Linked DNA regions of Homo sapiens: all the other regions are linked to region 1. The links are contacts of gene promoters, found by promoter capture Hi-C in blood cells and fetal thymus (Javierre and others, 2016). All regions are on one chromosome and are shown on one strand. Each heading gives the region's core, a stretch centred on a gene start or on the middle of the fragment in contact. The rest is flanking DNA. Distances are from core to core; before and after follow the strand shown. Region 1 holds the start of ADAM10 (ADAM metallopeptidase domain 10). Region 2 has its middle 1.6 kb from the start of BNIP2. Region 3 overlaps BNIP2 (BCL2 interacting protein 2). Region 4 has its middle 72 kb from the start of AQP9. Region 5 overlaps LOC124903499 (a long non-coding RNA gene).

Region 1 (2,635 bases), core at 101-2,600:
TTAATGGTAATAAATGGTATAAAATATACAGGTAACAGTATAGGAATTCCAGTTTATTACAGTATCAATAACATTAAGGCCGAGCGCAGTGGCTCACGCCTGTAATCCCAGCACTTGTGGGAGGCCGAGGCGGGAGGATCGCTTGAGTTGGAGGTTACAGTGAGCTATGATCACACCACTGCACTTCAGCCTGGCGAGACAGCGGATACCTTGTCTTTAGAAAGCAAAACAAAACAATTTACACACACACACACACACACACACTCTCCCTAATTCGGCTTGAGTTGGAGGTTACAGTGAGCTATGATCACACCACTGCACTTCAGCCTGGCGAGACAGCGGAGACCTTGTCTTTAGAAAGCAAAACAAAACAATTTACACATACACACACACACACACGCACACACACACTCTCCCTAATTCGGCCTACTCAAGCACGATACCAAATAGATGAAGAATATCTAATTAAATGGCCATAAAAAGTTCTAGTTCATGACATCCAAGTTTAAAGAATCAAAATGAGTTACGAGAAAACAAACACAAGCTTTAAGAAGTTGGGGAGAAGATGTGCGTGGATTCGCTTCAAAGATGTGACAGAGAGAAAAGAGGACATTTTCTGGACTGGAGATTCAAGACAGTCTGGTTCAGGTTGCATGCTTTTGCAAAGGCTAAAGCCTTAGTCTGTGACATAAATTTGTAAAGAGCTCGGAAAATTACATCTCGGACATGGTGTCTTTTTTTCCTGCTGCTTGAAGGTCTTTGCATTTATGTTCGCATCACTGGGGCAGCTGCCGCTATAATTACTGCTTGTTGGGACTTTTTGTTTACTTGGTAGCTGTGGTGCACCAAGAGAGGCAGAAAAAGAAGAAAAAAAACCTCTGTTACTTGTGACGTTAAGAAGTCGAAAGCAGCCCTGCTTACATCTTCCACGGACCATTTTAGCCCAAGGGAAGGTCCTCAGCAGCTCTAACACGTAGCGGAGCACTATCTCCGCGTAGGAGCGCTCCCGCCCCGGGGCGGGACCAGGACAAACCCCGCCTCCCAAGCCCAATCCCAGCTCTCCGCCGGCGGACAGGAAGCGGCGGCAGGCCTAGCAGCACGGGAACCGTCCCCCGCGCGCATGCGCGCGCCCCTGAAGCGCCTGGGGGACGGGTAGGGGCGGGAGGTAGGGGCGCGGCTCCGCGTGCCAGTTGGGTGCCCGCGCGTCACGTGGTGAGGAAGGAGGCGGAGGTCTGAGTTTCGAAGGAGGGGGGGAGAGAAGAGGGAACGAGCAAGGGAAGGAAAGCGGGGAAAGGAGGAAGGAAACGAACGAGGGGGAGGGAGGTCCCTGTTTTGGAGGAGCTAGGAGCGTTGCCGGCCCCTGAAGTGGAGCGAGAGGGAGGTGCTTCGCCGTTTCTCCTGCCAGGGGAGGTCCCGGCTTCCCGTGGAGGCTCCGGACCAAGCCCCTTCAGCTTCTCCCTCCGGATCGATGTGCTGCTGTTAACCCGTGAGGAGGCGGCGGCGGCGGCAGCGGCAGCGGAAGATGGTGTTGCTGAGAGTGTTAATTCTGCTCCTCTCCTGGGCGGCGGGGATGGGAGGTGAGGCACGACTGCGAGCGCCGGGGGCGCCGCGACCACGGCGGAGCGGCGGCCGGGCCGAGCGGAGCCCAGTCGCGCCTCGCGGCGTGCGCGTCAGTCAGCCCAGCCGGCCAGCGGCGCCACTCTGGCGGGCCGCGCTCCCCGCTCCCTATTGTCCCCCGCGCCCCGACCGCTTTCCCTTCGGTGGCGGGCCGAGGAGGCTCCCAAGCCTCCGGCGAGGCCTTCCCCGCCCCCCACCGCCCTGGCGGCCCCGGGAGGCGGGGGTCGCCTCCCAGAGAAGCGAAGTCGGGGCATCCGCGTCGCCTGGTGAGAGCGGTGGAACCCAGGCTGGTGGCTGCATCCCTCCAGTCTGCTCGGCGGGCGCCGGTGCAGGCAGCCGCAGCGAGGCTGGCGGTCTCGCCGTCCTCGTTCAGCGCTCATCCTGCTCACCATTCCTCCCCCAGCCCCTGCCCGGTGGCGGATTCCGAAGTCCTCTCCGCCGCCGAGACCCGCCGCGCAGACTCGTGGGAAGTTGTGTTGTTTGCAGCTGGGCTCGTGTATTGTTCTTTACCCGGCGCGCCGGTCCTGACCGACCCCATTCTGCAGAGGGGCCGCCCGTGGAGTGGCAGCAGTCATCACCCGCTTATCTGAGACTAGTGGCCTCGGTTCTTCCTGTGTCCTGTGTTTGGAGAGAGATCACAGGAGGGTGTGTTGGTGTTCTTGAAAACATTCTGTCGCCCAGGGGAAAGGGTTTGGTCGGGAGAAGGGTAAACCATTTGGGGATGTTCTTTGATTTGTAGGCTGGATTGGGTCTCTTAGAGTAGAAGTTCGGTCCCTGGGTGACCCAACTTGAAGAGTTTCGTTAAACTTTCAGGTGGAGTAGATGTACAGTGTAGTTAGTGGATTGTCAAAACAGTGCCCCCTCCCCCCTGCACATGAAAGTCAAATTTGCTAAAAGCATGTCATTTCTTGTTTCGGGTTTTGAAGACAACGATTTTTATTTCCGGTGTGTTCTAGGACCAGCTGCATCATTTTATTCTTGCTTAAAGTGCTTTATTTTAGGTAAGCTTTTTGACTTG
Region 2 (2,635 bases), core at 76-2,575, 940 kb before region 1:
AGTTCATAATATATTTTAATTATTTATTTTTATAATATAGATTCCCATATCTTTCCATAGACTGTAGAGGGTGAAGCCTCAGAATCTGTATTTTTATTTATTTATTTATTTTTGAGACACAGTCTCACTCTGTTGCCCAAGCTAGAGTGCATGGTGTGATTTTGGCTCACTGCAACCTCCACCTCCTGAGTTCACGTGATTCTCCTACCTCAGCACCCCCAAGCAGCTGGGATTACAGGTGCCCACCACCATACCCAGCTGATATTTGTAATTTTAGTAGAGACGTGGTTTCTCCACGTTGGCCAGGCTGGTCTCGAACTCCTGACCTCGGGTGATCCACCCACCTCAGCCTCCCAAAGTGCTGGGATTACAGGTGTGAGCCACTGCACCCAGCTCATATTTTAAATGAAAAGAAGAAAATGGAGATTATAAACCACTAAGTACATTATCTGATTTTTATAAAGACTTATATGTGCAATTTATACATAAAATATATATGTGTGTGAATATATATATATATATAATCTGAAAGGCTATACATAAATATGTTAATAATAATTATCTTTTTGGCTTACTTGTAGTTTGTAATGTTTCAACAATAAGTATGGATAATTAACAAGATAGGGATAAAAAGATAAGTAATAGGATGGCTTACTCGAAACCAAAGCAAACACTGATCAAGCTTATTAAATAATAAAGTTACTAAAATGAAGAAGGAACTGAAGATCTTAAAAAAAAGAAATCACATAACTATATATGATTTCCAGTGATTTTCTGCCACCCTGTGGGGAATTCTGCACATTGCAGAACTGAAGAAGCAAAGTATGAAACTACAAAAACTTCTGTAAATCAAGATGAAATTTCTTGGCCCAAGTAGTTGTTTAGCTAAAGCTCTGTTGATCAGTTTTGTTTTCTCTACTAGCTATTTAGTGAAATTGCTAGACTAGGATAAAAAGAATACCTAATACTTAAATGTGATTACAATATGACAACCAAGGTCCTAATACATATATATGAATTCATCTCACAAAAACCCTATAAGGTAGGTACTATTTTCTTCCCATTTTATCAAAGAGACGGACTTTAATCTACCAATGGTGGGTAAATGTTGCCAAAGCAATGTGAAATCCAGGCAGAATGCTGCATTTTTAGTCAATGATTTAAAATTTTGAGCTTTTCTGTTCCCCTCAGGCCTGATCGTACCCCAATGGAATCACCCAAATACTTGATGCTGAGCCTTTCTATGGATTTATCAGATGAAACTTTGGAAAGGGACTTTTTTTTTTTTTTAAGACAGGGTTTCGCTGTCACCCAGGCTGGAGTGGAGTGGCGCGATCTTGGCTCACTACAACCGCCGCCTGCCAGGCTCCAGAGAGTCTCCCACCTCAGCCTCCCAAGTGGCTGGGACCACAGGTGCATGCCACCAAGCCCACCTAATTTTCTTCTTTTCTTTCTTTCTTCCTTTCTTTCTCTTTGCTTCTTTTTCTTTCTTTCTTTCTCTGTCTCTTTTTTTTTTTTTTTTTTTAAGAGATGGGGTCTCGCCATGTTGCCCTGAGGTCTGGCGATCTACCGACTCGGCCTCTCAAAGTGCTGGGATTACAGTCATGAGCCAGCACGCCCAACTGAGAGAGACTATGATGTTCTCCAAACAAATCTCATTTGGTTGAAACTCTACAGCTGAGTATGGTCTAATTTGAGTAGTTTACCTTGAGTACTCTAACCATGGTCTATAGACCTGGGCTCTTCTGAGAACTGTTTGCAAATGGTTCACAGAGAGAGAGTAGAAAACTCTATGTCAATTTTGCAGGTAATTTTATGGCTGTTAACTCTAACGATAAAAAGTTTTGACTTGGACTTTGTATGTCTTTTCATTTTTCTGTTTTATTAACTTGTCAAAAACTAATTGAAAATTGAAAAAAATAAACCGACCGTTCCCCCAGTGAAGAGAAGCACTGCTGTAAAGCTTTTCACACTCAAATATTACCAAACTCTAAGGTCGCTTCTGAGGCCTAACTCCCCAAAATGATGCCTCGGATATTTTTCCTCGCCTTATTTCTTTTTTTTCTTTTTCTTTTTTTTTTTTTTTCCTTTTTCCTTTTATTTGAGACGGAGTTTTTGCTCTGTTGCCCAAGCTGGAGTGCAATGGCACGATCTCGGCTCACTGCAAACTCCAACTCCGCCTCCGCCTCCGCCCTCGCCTCCTGAGTAGTTGGGATTACAGACGCGCGCCACCACGCCCAGCTAATTTTTGTTTGTTTAGTAGAGACGAGGTGTCACCATGTTGGCCAGGCTGGTCTCGAGCTCTTGACCTCCGGTAATCCACCCGCCTCGCCCTCCCAAAGTGCTGGGATTACAAGCGTAAACCACCGCGCCCGACCTCCTCCCCTTATTTCATCCATTTTATAATTCACATTATTGATCGCTGATAATTGCACCTATTGTAATGATACTGATAATTGCACCTGTTGTAATAATATTGATATTGATAATTGCACCTATTGTATTACAATATTATTATTGATATCGATAATTTCACCTACTGTAATGATCAATAAAGGCAGGCAGAAAGAAAACAAAAGTAACTGAAACTACCAGGCAGCGTCCCTGCGAACAGCAAAGAGGGAAGAAACGCCTT
Region 3 (2,635 bases), core at 88-2,587, 910 kb before region 1:
TATTCTATGCTAAAATAGTCATTATTTTTAGAAAGAAAATTGTTCAGTTGCTGGTTTCTTATTTTATATATTCTTCATTAAACAGAGTTGATCAAGAACTTAATGGAAAACAAGATGAACCGAAAAATGAACAGTAAGTTTGGCATCTAGTCCAAACAAGACTGAAGAATGTGCTGATGGAGCAGTGCTGTTTCTGCATTCATAATGCATTTATTGGCCCATATTTTTATGTAACCTGTTACAAAATAGACTTGACTTTTTCATAATGGACTTTTGTATTATACAAGGGACTGTTCACTGCTGTACTGGTTTGCAAATTTCTTGAATTTAGCTCTTTAATAGCTAACTGTATTATTATCGTTTTATATTTTATATTGCTAAATAGAGAACCACACTTTATATAAAGTAGTTTTTGCATTTGTTTATTGAATGATGCATCTTCTTCGGTGAAATATTTATATGCATAAATGGCAAAGGAAAGAAATAATATATATTTTTATGTCATTGAGCAATATTTTTTAATGTGTACCTGTCTTATGGAAGAAATATGCAGGTATATAAGACCACGATTTTCTAAAGTGCATATTAGAATTTTTGTTTTTGTAAATGGTTAAATACATTTCCTGGGTAACTTAGGAAATTAAGTTTTTCATAAGGCAACAGATGGTTAAACTGATTGTCATGAATACCCAAAGATCATGTATATAATCGAAGTGTATTAGTACCATCCCAAGGTTTTTTTCTCATTTAACATATTTGTTTCATAATTCAGCAAGTACAGATGCAAGCGCATTGCACACTTTTTCCTTTCTAAACTTAAAGACAAGTCAAAAAGCCATTCTTAGAACTAGAGGATTTAAGAGGGTAGGAATTAGGGTTTGTATATATGTATATATGGGACATTTTATCTTCTGGCCCAAAGTCAGAACTTTATAAAAATCTTGAGTTTGTTCACTAATGTGAAATAAGCTATGTGTCCAGGGTATTGCTCCCCTGAGTGTATATGAGTGCTGAGTAGTATTGCAGAGAATGTGATGAGTTATTCACTGTCACAACTTTTTCTATAGAAAACAGGGGCTGCTTTTTAAACTCTCACTATGGGCACTTTACCAAAATACTTCCATATCAATTATTTGAACTCGGTAGTTGTTTGACCTAGTTAGATGTGGTGTTTATTCAAGTTTGTATGAAATCATGTTTGACAATACTGTAAATTAGGTTAATTTTGTAAGTCTTAGCATCATCATATTGTGCTGTTTTGGATAACACGTTTGTTACAAGCATTTAAACTGTTTCATTTGGTAGTACCTTTACATTGAAATAAATTGTGTTTGTGCCTCCAAACAAAAAGTTTAATTACCGACAAAATTATTTCTAAAACAACAGATTGATCTGATATTGTGTCATATACTTGAAAGGCTCATACACAGCTGGTAAGCATAATACCTTCCAAATTTGAAGGTCATGGCTACTCTTCAACCCTTCCTGTAAGGTATTTTACAAAACAGTGGCCTAGAGTAGCAAAATTGAAGTGGATGTGAGCTAACCTTTCAAGATTTAGTCTATCCTAGATTGAACACACATGTGGCTGTGACCATTCTCATGTACTTACAAACCTTCTGTTACAAAAGGGAACTTTCCTATATTTTTTGTCCTCCTCAGTCCTAAACTTGGCATGCTAACTTAAAACCAGTTATAGGAGAGAGATGCTGGAGGATTCCCAGGATGAAACATTCCTCAGCAGCCTCCTGACTTAACTCAGATCCAGCAGCTCTTGGCAGATCCTGAACTAATGTCATTACAGTGAATTGAGCCAAAACGATTATTGCTTGCTCACATTTTAGGAACACTTGTTGTTGAAGAAGCAAACTAACAATAACAAGTTAGGCATTCCTTCTGAATTTACCATATAAGGATTATGTATAAACAATTATATTGAATTTGTCATTAGATTCTATATTTGTAGACGATTTAACGTAGTCTTTCATCTGTACATCTTTATCTTGCTCAAAATGGGCTGAGGTTTTTAATAGGTGGTTTTCTACCACATTAAGTACTTGGTTCTTCAGTTTAAAAAATATGAAGAATAACTTCAACTCTTTTTTGCATTATTTTGATTTTTGATTTTGCAGTCATTGCTCCTAACTGTAGATACATGTTGCAAAAGTGATGTTTTTCTGAATTTTTTTTAAAAGTAGAAGACTATTCTGTTAAACATTAAAATTCAGAGACAACAGTGATAACACCTGGGATATAATGAAAATGAGGTGCTGTGAATCAGTAAACTAAAGGGATACCTGCTTTAACCTGCACCTTAATGGAATCTGGTATAGAGATGTACCCACAATAAATGTTTTATAAGATTTAAGATCATAATAGTAGGTTAGAGGAAGAGCATTTATTAAGTCTGTTGTTTCTAATCTATAGCTAAGTTAACATTTCCCATATTATTCCATTTTAATTTCCCATTACTGACCAAGGTGAAAGTATATGTGATTGTACTTTTATCTTTCTGTTGGGATCATGGATCTAATTTAACTGGCTTAATTTGATGCTTCTGTCACTAGGCTCTAAGTGCCCCTTTTTTAGTCAGAAGTTTTTCATGTGAAATAATTTGATTCTGTGTTCTGCTTGA
Region 4 (2,635 bases), core at 64-2,563, 540 kb after region 1:
ATTGCACTCCAGCCTGGGTGACAGAGTAAGACTCTGTCTCAAAAAAAAAAAAAAAAAAAAAAAAAAAAAGAAGTTCAGCTAGCCTGCTGGAGAGATGAGATACCGGGGCATGCGATACCACATGGAGAAGAACGTGGAGAAGCCATGTTGGATGTTCCAGCCCCGTGGGTCTCCAGAGTACTCCAGCACCAGCTGCCAACTGGTGTCAGGGTTCTCTAGAGGGACAGAACTAGTAGAAGACATATATATATATATATGTGTGTGTGTGTATATATAGTCAGGGTTACATATATATATGTCTAATATATATAGACATATATATATTATTCAGGGTTCTCTACAGGGATAGAACTAGTAGGAGACATGTCTCCTACTAGTTCTGTCCCTCTAGAGAACCCTGACTAATACAATATTGCTGTATAACAAATCACCCAAATGCAGTTGCTTAAAAAATAATTTACTGCATTATTATCTCTCATGATAGTGTGTGTTGACTGGATTCGGCTAGGTGATTCTTCCATTTGTCTCCCTTTGAATATCGCTTGCATTTGCAGTCATTTGGCAGCTGGTGTTGGAGTGCTCTGGTGTAAGTTAATACTTAATAAACTCATATATATATATATATATATATATATATATATATATATAGTTCAATTCCTTTATCTTTTCTATACACTTGAAATTTTTCAAAATAAAAAGTTGAGAGGAAATGCCTGGGTATATAACATAAGACATGAAAGAGTCCTTGGAATATATATATATATATGGGTTTATTGTGTGACAGAGTCCCACAACAGGCTATCTGCAAGCTGAGGAGCAAGGAGAGCCTGTCCAAGTCCCAAAACTGAAGAACCTGGAATCTGATGTTTGAGGGCAGGAAGCATCCAGCACGGGAGAAAGATGTAGCCTGGGAGGCTAGACCAGCCTCTCTTTTCACATTTTTCTGCCTGCTTATACTCTAGCTGTGCTGGCAGCTGATTAGATTATGCCCACCCACATTAAGGGTCATCTGCCTTCCCCAACCCACTGACTCAAATGTTAATCTCCTTTGGCAACACCCTCACAGACACACCCAGTATCAAGACTTTACATCCTTCAGTCCAATCAAGTTGACACTCAGTATTAACCATCGCAAGTCCACCTCTTGTCAACTTGAACCCACACACATCTCCTGAGGTCATACATAATCTTCAAATAAAGACAATAATAAGGTCATAATTATGCCTAACATAATGCAACTATTCTTCATACAACCGGAAACACACCAATCCCCAACCCAAATACTATTACTTAAAGTTAACAATGCTTAAATGCGGATGGGAAATCAATAAAATCTTATGTCACGTGATAAAGGAGAAGGGAAATAAAATGAAGATATTTTCTTAGTACAAGTATATACATGCACAAACATGTTTTTAACAAAAGGAGGAAATACTCATGACAGTTAAACAGTCCTTGTTTCTGCAGCTGGTCATGTGGTCGTAGTTGGTATTGATGACTACCTTCTTCTACTACCCATTCTGTATTCCCTTAGCCTTCAGCAAGCACCTCAGCAGGTCGTGGTTTTTTCCTGGTGGAATGACCCAAACCTTCATTCCTGAAGGGTCTGAGTCATTTGTAGTCCTGCCTGAATTGGGCTGTTGTAGTTTCCCATTGACCTTAATCACAGGGCATGGTAATACTAAGAGACACCCTAATGAATCTCCTGTATTCCATGCATACTTTTCCTTACCTCTGTTGTGTAGTAGTAGACTGATTTCATCTTGATAGTCCGGGTCAACCACCCCAGCCAATACTGTAACTCCATTCTTAGCCTGTTGCCTTAAAGCTAGGAGGAGCCCAAAGAGTCCAGGTGGCAATCTTAACTTCCAGTTTAATGGAATCATTGTTGTGTTTCCTCGTGGCAGGGTTCCTCCCTCTGGAACAAAGACCTCTAGGCCAGTAGAGAGTAATGTCCTGGGAACAGGAAGCAAAAATTTTGCTAGTGGATCACTAGGGGTGATGGTGAATGGTGCCACTTCCACTTCCACCCCTTAATTCCTGGACCCATGAATCCTAGCTATGGGAGAAACAGTGCCATATACTGGATGCTGATTCAGAGCATACACAGCCTTCTGGAGAACTTTACCCCAGCCCCTCAAAGTATTGTCACCTAGTTGGCATTGTAATTGTTACTTCAAAAGGCCATTCCACTGTCTTCTCTTCCTCTGTCAGGTGATCATAGGGAACTCCCCATGAGGCCGTCGGTGCAGGCTACGAGAGAGAAGGCAGGGTGGCAGGAGTGGAGACCATGGGCATTTGAGTTACTTCCTCAAGTAACTTGTTTGTGCCTTCAGGACCTGCTTGAGCCTGATCACATATGTACCACTTCCTTTGATGACGGAATGCTGCTGTGCATGACCCACTTTATGGCTAGATGGGTCAGAAAGTACTCTGTTCTTAATAGGCAGTTTAGGTCACATGGTGACTTGATGATTCATAGTCAAATGTTCAGTTTATGCCAAAGCCCAATAACAGGCCAAGAGCTGTCTCTCCCAAGGAGAGTAGTTATCTGCAGAAGATGGCAGGGCCTTGCTCCAAAATCCTAGAGGCCTCCGCTGTGATTCACTTTTGGGGGCCTGCCAAAGGCTCCAAA
Region 5 (2,635 bases), core at 48-2,547, 520 kb after region 1:
GTTCCTTGTCTGTTCCCATTGCAGTCTTCAGCACTCGGAACTCCCGTGCTCCCCCCGCCCCCAACTCCGCCCCCCACCCCCCTCCCTGGTAGGCACCACGTGAGATCTCCCTGCCATCCCAGTGGGACATTGCTCCCATGGTCAGCATCTCCGTTTCATTCTTTGCAGGATTTGGAGGTAATTCTAACTAGATCTCTGTTTTTGAGAATGTTACCACATCCTGTGGCTTTCCTCCTCAATAGGCGTCGGCAGGTACCAGGTGTAGTATACCTGCAGGATTTGTTAGGACTCTGCCCGAGAACATGAACTTGACAAAGAACTCTTGCCCTGAAGAAAAGCTAAATTATGGTTGTACCAATTACATGAAAGAATACAGGAAATGAATATAATGGATATAAAGTGCTCAGGAAAGCAATGCACAAAATAACATTAACATTTTCATCTGGTCCCTGTGGAGTCATTCTTTGTAAGGTCATTCCTTGAAGAGTTTTCTTTTCAAGTTGTAAGCCTGTACGTCTTATTTCACCATGAAGAACTCTGCCTGCTACATTCCTGAGGCAATCCAAGGGGTCAGCTATTAACAGAGCTGGGCTAAATATATCCCTTCCAGGAGCCTCCAGCCTCTGTTCCAGAGTCACATCCTGTGTCAGCTGGAGCAGATTCTCTCCTGCTTCCCTGCCACCAGCAGCCTCATCAGAGGCCTCAAGGTGTCCAAAGAGGTTGGCATGATAAACTGAGGGACTTCCTTGAGGACCTGTCTGTTTACCTGAAACAGCTGGTCTACCTGCTCCCCGCTGCAACTTCACCAGCCTCTATACATTTGTGTATCTACTACACATCATACCTGCCTCCACCTAAAATACAAAGCACAATCTTAACCTCACAGCAAAGACTCACACCGAAGGAGGGTTTTTATACATGAGATTCGAGGGGTTCATCAGATAGGGGAGTATTTGGCTTTTTTCTATTGGGAAGAGATGAAGGTCTTAGAGCAGCAAGTCTGAAATGAAAGCCTATATTTTTCTTTTGGTCTGCTTGGGAGTAGGGGTGCCCCTGGGTGTGGGACTTTCAGTGCTAACACTGGGGCAGTGTTGGGTAAACTGGGACAGTCGGTCTCCCTCCATAGCCTTCACCACCACTATCCTTCCAATTCCCTTCACCGCTATTTCTTATACTGGCTGAGAGAAGGAGAGACTAAGAGGTCAGAGCTTGAAATGGAGCTTTGGAAGTTTTCACCAAACCCATTCCAGATATCTTAGGGGTTTCACACTAAAACAACATTAGGAGGGATCAATAGTCACCTTCTTTGAAGGTGTTTGTGAGAAAAAGAACCTTAAGAGATTGAAGGGAAAGATGTATAACTATAGTTTTAGTTTGTAAAGTCCTTCTAAAGAGCTATTTTAAATGTTTGTATATCGCTAGCTTGAATTTTATTTTCCAGTAAATGTTTCTAATACATAAAAAATGGAAACGTTTGTGATTACAAGTCTGTAGGGTTTGAACCCAGAGCTACAGTCTGTAATTTTAACAAATCCTCCACCTATTGTTTTGGACTTCACAGTCCGTGGCACTCTGCCTCCACCTGGTGGCAGTGTACCTAAATTAAGTCGGGTTCCTCCCTCCCGTCTCCATATTTTTGTGTGTGGTAAGAGCCTCACTTTTGGGAATTGTATCTTACAAGCCAAATTATAAAGATATTAATTTGTCACATACTATCGTCCTTATTTAGAATTCAGCATCAATTTGGAGCAAAAACCATCTCTTTATATTTGCTTTATGCTTTATCTTGTGAAGTATTATGAACCTAATAAAATAATTGAATACTGCAGTCCCTTAGAGAATATGCAACTATTGTAAGCAGATACCATGAAGAACATGACGTGTGAAAATATCATGTGTATAGATTTTTTTAGGTTATAATAAATAAAACTTGTAAGAAATTTATTAATCAGACACAATTCATCATGTCCATTATCATACCGAGTTCCACAATTTTTAGGCCCAAGGATTAGGAGTTCACACTAGGGGATGTAAGTGGGGTTGCTTTTACATAGGTACATCTTTTTTTCTTATATATTCTTTATTTTCTTTTTATTTTGTTAATTCCGCAGCATGAGAATTCTGAAATAATTGCTAAAGTTCATGAGTTATTTTATCATCAACATACTCTGGGATCAGAAGACTCAAAGCCCACTTATTGCTGCTTCTTTGGGGAAAGTCATTTCACTTCCCTAGGGCTAGCTTTCCTGGTCTGTAAAATTGAGATCATAATTATATGTTACCAGGTGGGTATAAGAGTCAAACAAGATGCTGTGTGTACAAGTGCTCTGTTATCCAGATGTTAGTCTCAGGGGCATTGTTATCATGTGCAAATTGAAGGCAAAGATTCCAGTTCATACTTCCCAGCCCCTGGCTGCATTCCATTCTCCATTTAGATCCTAGGCCTGAGTTTCCTTGGAATATATCACGGAATTCTAATTCCCTCTGAGCCCACTGGTCTTCTCACTTGCCAGGACCCCTTGCAAGCCCCCAACCCTCACTCTCCACACGCCCAGCTTTTCCCTTCCCCAACAGTGGCTAAAGCAGCCTGCACCAGAGTAGAACAGGCACCTGGCCTAGACTGGGTGTGGGATTC

What was found. Contacts are between HindIII fragments. The CHiCAGO score rates a contact against its expected background, and 5 or more counts as called.
Region 2: a fragment that was not itself captured here is called in contact with the fragment with the promoter of ADAM10 in region 1 in 4 of 17 cell types (total B cells, naive B cells, neutrophils and 1 more); the score reaches 8.2 in total B cells.
Region 3: a fragment that was not itself captured here is called in contact with the fragment with the promoter of ADAM10 in region 1 in 1 of 17 cell types (non-activated CD4 T cells); the score reaches 5.2 in non-activated CD4 T cells.
Region 4: a fragment that was not itself captured here is called in contact with the fragment with the promoter of ADAM10 in region 1 in 3 of 17 cell types (megakaryocytes, erythroblasts and M1 macrophages); the score reaches 8.4 in megakaryocytes.
Region 5: a fragment that was not itself captured here is called in contact with the fragment with the promoter of ADAM10 in region 1 in 13 of 17 cell types (M2 macrophages, megakaryocytes, M0 macrophages and 10 more); the score reaches 17.8 in M2 macrophages.

Annotation. Positions count from the first base shown.
Region 1 is chr15:58,748,422-58,751,056 of GRCh38, reverse strand. ADAM10 (ADAM metallopeptidase domain 10) reads left to right here and starts at 1,350. Exons shown (of 16, transcript NM_001110.4): 1 at 1,350-1,577. The coding sequence starts at 1,523. RefSeq lists enhancers at 731-910, 2,001-2,130, 1,582-2,217 and silencers at 981-1,270, 1,601-1,890. The HindIII fragment of the contact is 2,079 bases long and covers 547-2,625 here.
Region 2 is chr15:59,689,561-59,692,195 of GRCh38, reverse strand. No RefSeq gene overlaps it. Among named protein-coding and RNA genes, the nearest start is that of BNIP2, 1.6 kb to the right of the region's middle. RefSeq lists a silencer at 2,599-2,635 and an enhancer at 2,522-2,635. The HindIII fragment of the contact is 1,281 bases long and covers 685-1,965 here.
Region 3 is chr15:59,661,571-59,664,205 of GRCh38, reverse strand. BNIP2 (BCL2 interacting protein 2) reads left to right here. Exons shown (of 10, transcript NM_004330.4): 10 at 86-2,635. The coding sequence ends at 137. Among named protein-coding and RNA genes, the nearest start is that of GTF2A2, 5.4 kb to the right of the region's middle. The HindIII fragment of the contact is 2,710 bases long and covers 1-2,635 here.
Region 4 is chr15:58,209,095-58,211,729 of GRCh38, reverse strand. No RefSeq gene overlaps it. Among named protein-coding and RNA genes, the nearest start is that of AQP9, 72 kb to the right of the region's middle. The HindIII fragment of the contact is 4,167 bases long and covers 1-2,635 here.
Region 5 is chr15:58,226,852-58,229,486 of GRCh38, reverse strand. The region is part of intron 1 of LOC124903499 (a long non-coding RNA gene); the gene reads right to left. Among named protein-coding and RNA genes, the nearest start is that of AQP9, 90 kb to the right of the region's middle. The HindIII fragment of the contact is 8,324 bases long and covers 1-2,635 here.